2 separate regions of the Homo sapiens genome follow, and region 2 is linked to region 1. Evidence: promoter capture Hi-C in human tissues and cell types (Jung and others, 2019). All regions are on one chromosome and are shown on one strand. The core of a region is centred on a gene start or on the middle of the fragment in contact, and the rest is flanking DNA. Distances in the headings are between cores, read along the strand shown. Region 1 holds the start of C9orf72 (C9orf72-SMCR8 complex subunit). Region 2 overlaps LINGO2 (leucine rich repeat and Ig domain containing 2).

Region 1 (3,664 bases), core at 785-3,284:
CATAAAGCCCTCACTTCTTGTTTTTTAGAGACAGGGTCTCGTTTTGTCATCCAGGCTGGAATGCACTGGCAGGATCATAGCTCTCGGTAACTTCAAACTCTTGGGCTCAAATGACCCTCCTGCCTCAGCCTCCCAAGTAGCTAGGACTACAGGTGCACATCACCACGCCCGGCTAAGTTTTTAATTTTTTGTAGAGACAGGGTCTACGTTGCCCAGGTTGAGCTTGAACTCCTGGCTTCAAGTGATCCTCTTGCCTCCGCCTCCCAAAGCTCTGGCATTACAGGTGTAAGCCACCTTCTCCAACCTGGCTCTCAATACTTGTAACCATGCTGTTTATTTTCTCCCAGCCCAAAGAGAAGCAGGATCCTAAACCGTCCACTTTCCACAACAGGAGCTGCCCAGGACCACTTCAAGGACAGTGAACTGTTTACAGTACCAGAAAGTTCACAACACTTTCTCAATCTTCAACATCAGGGAAGACTGGAAGGTGAAGTTCATATCACTATCTGGCCATTTCTCACAGTTCCAAGTTTCTCAGACAATAGGTAGGCTAACCTAGTCCTCCTGGGAACTATCTAATTAACGTAGAATAGAACCCGAGGGCAGACTTGAAAAACAGAAGTCCTCCTTGGTTTACTTTGTTTCTCTGAAAGCAAATTGTGGAGTGCCAACATAGCCAAACAAAATATTTTATCAACTTCATAAGGTGCTTGTAATTTTTTCCTGGAGCAGGTAAATGCTGGCTTAGTGAACAATCTGGAATGTGGTAATTACTCTCGTTCTTGTTTCAGATGTACTATCAGCATGTAGCAGTTTCCAACTGATTCAGGGTTTTCCTAAAGTGGCAGGCCTTGGCAGAGGTGGTGACAACAATGCCCGTGTCAAATGACACCGTATTTCAAGTATTCTGACTCCAGGTTATTAATATCCCCTATATGATAGTCTTGTTTCTGTGATATTCACAGATTATGTTAAAAGTTTCCCAAAGTCTGAGAAAAATCATATCTTAACAGTATCTTTTTTTTTTTTGATCCTTTGTACAAAAGTAGAAGTAATGCCAGACAGATTACGTACCCTTGTTGTGAACAACTGGTGCATGGCAACTGTTTGAATAGAAATTTACCAACTGCCACAACCAGGCAACTACTCTCCCAGAGCCTAACAATCTCGATTGCATCTGAAAGGGCCACCCCTCCTGGGAAAGTGCAGGACCTCCCTCCTGTTTCTGAATACAAAGCCTGGTGGTGTTCAACGCGGCCAGATAGACCCAATGAGCACACGGACATGTAATCTGTGCACTTCTTTAGACAACTGATTACCATCAGTCAAGTGATGCCCAAGTCACAATAGTCACTTCCTTTAAGCAAGTCTGTGTCATCTCGGAGCTGTGAAGCAACCAGGTCATGTCCCACAGAATGGGGAGCACACCGACTTGCATTGCTGCCCTCATATGCAAGTCATCACCACTCTCTAGAAGCTTGGGCTGAAATTGTGCAGGCGTCTCCACACCCCCATCTCATCCCGCATGATCTCCTCGCCGGCAGGGACCGTCTCGGGTTCCTAGCGAACCCCGACTTGGTCCGCAGAAGCCGCGCGCCGCCCACCCTCCGGCCTTCCCCCAGGCGAGGCCTCTCAGTACCCGAGGCTCCCTTTTCTCGAGCCCGCAGCGGCAGCGCTCCCAGCGGGTCCCCGGGAAGGAGACAGCTCGGGTACTGAGGGCGGGAAAGCAAGGAAGAGGCCAGATCCCCATCCCTTGTCCCTGCGCCGCCGCCGCCGCCGCCGCCGCCGGGAAGCCCGGGGCCCGGATGCAGGCAATTCCACCAGTCGCTAGAGGCGAAAGCCCGACACCCAGCTTCGGTCAGAGAAATGAGAGGGAAAGTAAAAATGCGTCGAGCTCTGAGGAGAGCCCCCGCTTCTACCCGCGCCTCTTCCCGGCAGCCGAACCCCAAACAGCCACCCGCCAGGATGCCGCCTCCTCACTCACCCACTCGCCACCGCCTGCGCCTCCGCCGCCGCGGGCGCAGGCACCGCAACCGCAGCCCCGCCCCGGGCCCGCCCCCGGGCCCGCCCCGACCACGCCCCGGCCCCGGCCCCGGCCCCTAGCGCGCGACTCCTGAGTTCCAGAGCTTGCTACAGGCTGCGGTTGTTTCCCTCCTTGTTTTCTTCTGGTTAATCTTTATCAGGTCTTTTCTTGTTCACCCTCAGCGAGTACTGTGAGAGCAAGTAGTGGGGAGAGAGGGTGGGAAAAACAAAAACACACACCTCCTAAACCCACACCTGCTCTTGCTAGACCCCGCCCCCAAAAGAGAAGCAACCGGGCAGCAGGGACGGCTGACACACCAAGCGTCATCTTTTACGTGGGCGGAACTTGTCGCTGTTTGACGCACCTCTCTTTCCTAGCGGGACACCGTAGGTTACGTCTGTCTGTTTTCTATGTGCGATGACGTTTTCTCACGAGGCTAGCGAAATGGGGCGGGGCAACTTGTCCTGTTCTTTTATCTTAAGACCCGCTCTGGAGGAGCGTTGGCGCAATAGCGTGTGCGAACCTTAATAGGGGAGGCTGCTGGATCTGGAGAAAGTGAAGACGATTTCGTGGTTTTGAATGGTTTTGTTTGTGCTTGGTAGGCAGTGGGCGCTCAACACATAATTGGTGGATGAAATTTTGTTTTTACCGTAAGACACTGTTAAGTGCATTCAAAACTCCACTGCAAACCCTGGTAGGGGACAGCTCCGGCACTGCGGGCGGGAATCCCACGGTCCCCTGCAAAGTCATCGCAATTTTGCCTTTACATGTAAGAATTCTCTCAAGCATGATTTTCACACTGGGGAATGTCATTTTTGCTAGTTGCAATATGTGGATGAGTTGTTTTTTTTTAACTTTTGAAAAACGTACCATTCTGTTTGATGTGTAAAAAACACAAAGATTTTTGAAACCTTGCGTCTTTTGGTCTGCAGGTGTATAGATTCCACTTACTACAGATGAGTAGCATTTACACCACTCAGATGTGTAAAAAAACAAAGGTTTTTTAAACTGTGTGCCTTTTGATCTGCAAGTGTGAGATGGCACTTACTACAGTGAGTAGCATTTAATCTTTTTCATCACTAAAAATCACACAGAACGTTTTAATCATTCACCGAGGAAGAAAGGGAGGAATAAATACACAAAATGGCTCTCAACGTCTACACCTTCTGCAGAAACAGACCCTTTTCCTACTGTTCTATGCTTTGTGAAAGTTGATCATACAAATTGGGTCATTCTTTTTATACCCAACTAAAATAGTGGGGGTAGGGGGTAGAAAAGCACTTAGGACAAATGACACTGCTCCCACAGTGTAATTCTCTCCAAGTCCAGCTGCTGCAACTGCCCGTTGTGACCTGAGACCAGTTTTATCTAATAGTTGCTAAAATGACCTGCTGCAGCTCTAATTTTATCTACCACCATCACTCACCAGTTGAAACTCACCAGCTCCTCAGATCCTTAATAGTGCCAATGAATTTTCTCAAAGAGCACTATGTAACATTTCTCTTTTTTAACAAAACCTCCCCCTTTTCTTTGTTGTGTGGATATACCGAAGACCATCTGATCTACATGTATGCCCTAATTGCAATTCTTTCTTCCCAAATAAATCACTTAATTTAGAGATTCATCTCTGTATTTTTATTT
Region 2 (3,664 bases), core at 309-2,808, 510 kb after region 1:
ACTTAATTTCAAAGTTAAAAGCTCTGAATTTATATATGTCAGAAAACGGTCTTGATGGCAAATTTTTAAAGAAAAAAAAACATGTCCCAAATGGTATCACACACAATGCAGCAATCCCTGGACGAGTGAGAGTGAAAAACTTGAGTTCCAACTTGGCCACAAACTTATGAGACTTTAACAGAGTCACTCTTTTTATTTTTCACGTCATCCATCTCAAGGCTATAATTTTATTGACATTTCCTTCAGTACAGGCAAGGCTTAAATAGCAAGTATTCTAGATTGATTATAAAAATGGCTCCAATTCTTTCTTTCCCTGTATCCACAGCACTCACAATATGACTTTGAAGTTATTTTCATGACAAGAGTCTATTTTTCCAACCTTTGGATCAGAGTTAGACTTGTGTGACAATGTGCCAGTTTCAAGCCCAGGCTTCACATGGCCTGGCATGCTTCTAATCACTCTCTGCTGTACCTTTGGACAAGTCCAGACTAGCTTTTTGAAGAAAAGAAAGCATAAACAGGAGAGCCAAGTCATGTAAGCTGAGGCCATCCCAGACCAGTTAGCTCCTAGTCCACTTGCCAGCTGACTACAGATGCATATGATACTCCAGCAGAGATAAGATGAGATTAACTGAGCCCAGACTAGATTGTTGGAAGTGCCCAGCTGACCCATAGACTCATGAGGTTTTATTGTAAATTACTTGCTTTGGGGTTATTTGTTATACAGCATTTTTGTAACAAGAGATAAACTGTATAGGAAGAAAAAGCACTTTTAAAACAATATGTGTTTTACCAATATTTCATTCTAATCATCACTATTAATTAACATTTCCCTTAAGGGTAAAAACGAATACCTCTAAGCAGAAATATAAGTAAAATATATTCATGAGAAAATTATTTTTCTTTTGAGTTCCCTAAGATTGAAAGTTTACCTGTGACTTAGGGTGAGATTCTTTCATTCTTCATTCATTCTTGGTCCTATCTGGGGAATCTTTTCCTGGAATGATCATGAAATAGATCCCTATGTGTGGTGTTCAGCACCCAGATACAGGAATATGCCACATACTCAACATGCATTTCCATTTTCATGCCCCCTCTCACAACTCAGCCAGCTGCTTTGAGCCAAGTACACCAGTGGCCCTTACCTAATTCCTGAGACAATCTTATGGGAATTAGCATTTCATTGGTACATATTTCCAGATTTGTGTGTTCACATTTCCAGTCCTGTAACATGAGTAACCCATGAGATAGCTCCTAGTCTTCAATAGCCACAATTTCCTCCATGGCTACCTAAGATACTTTAGTACCAGTAAAAGAAACTCTTTGGTTTCAGCATTCCCAATCACTATAATATAATGACTCAGTACAGAATAATAGGCATCTGTTCTGATAACCATACTATTCCTTGACAGTTCATGCTATTTGGATGTCCAGTGAAGCAATTTAAAGGAACAGATTTTGGAGTTCAAATCGTGGCTCTGCCATTAACTAATTTCGGATAAGAGATTTAATTAATCTGAACATCTGTTTTCTTATCTATAGTATTGGGATAACAATACCTCCTGCATAGGGTTTGAGGAGATGAAGAAATAAGATTATATATATATAATTATACACACACACACACACACACACACACACACACACATATAATGGTTTAGTACAACTAATGGGTACATAAATGGAAAAAGTGATGGCACCTGAAGTTCAGTTACATACAAGGCAACACATTGGACCTGCTTCTAGTATATACATTTGGACCATGGCTAAGACTGCTATGCCCTTTAGACTCTGGCCTTCATTGCCAGACTACCCTGATAAAAGCAAAATGTTAAAACCAAGATCTTCCTTTGCAAACACCATAGTAATCTGCATTCCATCTGATTCTGGTTTTCTTCCCTCATCCCTCTCCCCTACCTTGGGATCCGTGGATGAAATGTAGGTATATCCCAGGTCTAAGTCCTCTGGGTACTGACAGAAACACATATTGTGCAACATATGGAAGACCACAGAAATAGAGCCTTTAGCACGGGATTAAGACCAAGCATGAAGAAACTGTATCAACTAAAGAGCAAAATAACCAGCTAACATCATAATGATAGGATCAAATTCACACATAACAATATTAACCTTAAATGTAAATGGGCTAAATGCTCCAATTAAAAGACACAGACTGACAAACTGGATAAAGAGTCAAGACCCATCAGTGTGCTTGTATTCAGGAGACCCATCTCATGTGCAGAGACACACATAGACTCAAAATAAAGGGATGGAGGAAGATCTACCAAGCAAATGGAAAACAAAAAAAGGAAGGGGTTCCAATCCTAGTCTCTGATAAAACAGACTTTAAACCAACAAAGATCAAAAGAGACAAAGAAGGCCATTACATAATGGTAAAGGGATCAATTCAACAAGAAGAGCTAACTATCCTAAATATATATGCACCCAATGCAGGAGCACCCAGATTCATAAAGCAAGTCCTTAGAGACCTACAAAGAGACTTAGACTCCCACACAATAATAATGGGAGACTTTAACACACCATTGTCAACATTAGACAGATCAACGAGACAGAAAGTTAACAAGGATATCCAGGAATTGAACTCAGCTCTGCATCAAGTGGACCTAATAGACATCTACAGAACTCTCCACCCCAAATCAACAGAATATACATTCTTCTCAGCACCACATCACACTTATTCCAAAATTGACCACACAGTTGGAAGTAAAGTACATCTTAGCAAATGTAAAAGAATAGAAATTATAACAAACTGTCTCTCAGACCACAGTGCAATCAAACTAGAACTGAGGATTAAGAAACTCACTCAAAACTGCTCAACTACATGGAAACTGAACAACCTGCTCCTGAATGACTACTGGGTGCATAATGAAATGAAGGCAGAAATAAAGATGTTTTTTGAACCAATGAGAACAAAGACACATCATACCAGAATCTCTGGGACACATTTAAAGCAGTGTGTAGAGGGAAATTTATAGCACTAAAGGCCCACAAGAGAAAGCAGGAAAGATCTAAAATTGACAACCTAACATCACAATGAAAAGAACTAGAGAAGCAAGAGCAAACACATTCAAAAGCTAGCAGAAGGCAAGAAATAACTAAGATCAGAACAGAACTGAAGGAAATAGAGACACAAAAAGCCCTTCAAAAAAATCAATGAATCCAGGAGCTGGTTTTTTGAAAAGATCAACAAAATTGATAGACTGCTAACAGACTAATAAAAAGAAAAGAGAGAAGAATCAAATAGATGCAATAAAAAATGATAAAGGGGATATCACCATCGATCCCACAGAAATACAAACTACCATCAGAGAATACTATAAACACCTCTATGCAAATAAACTAGAAAATCTACAAGAAATGGATAAATTCCTGGACATATACACCTTCCAAGACTAAACCAGGAAGAAGTTGAATCTCTGAATAGACCAATAACAGGCTCTGAAATTGAGGCAATAATTAATAGCTTACCAACCAAAAAAAGTCCAGGACCAGATGCATTCACAGCCAAATTCTACCAGAGGTACAAGAACAAGCTGGTACCATTCCTTCTGAAACTATTCCAATCAATAGAAAAAGAGGGAGTCCTCCCTAACTCATTTTATGAGGCCAGCATCATCCTAATATCAAAGCCTGACAGAAACAC

Evidence for each region. Contacts are between HindIII fragments. The study calls those that stand out against the background at their distance.
Region 2: a contact is called between a fragment that was not itself captured here and the fragment with the promoter of C9orf72 in region 1, in 1 of the 25 tissues and cell types used here (mesendoderm cells).

Annotation. Positions count from the first base shown.
Region 1 is chr9:27,571,447-27,575,110 of GRCh38, forward strand. C9orf72 (C9orf72-SMCR8 complex subunit) reads right to left here and starts at 2,035. Exons shown (of 11, transcript NM_018325.5): 1 at 1,985-2,035. RefSeq lists enhancers at 1,429-1,518, 2,117-2,644 and a silencer at 2,029-2,108. The HindIII fragment of the contact is 8,764 bases long and covers 1-3,664 here.
Region 2 is chr9:28,086,591-28,090,254 of GRCh38, forward strand. The region is part of intron 6 of LINGO2 (leucine rich repeat and Ig domain containing 2); the gene reads right to left. Among named protein-coding and RNA genes, the nearest start is that of C9orf72, 510 kb to the left of the region's middle. The HindIII fragment of the contact is 5,233 bases long and covers 1-3,664 here.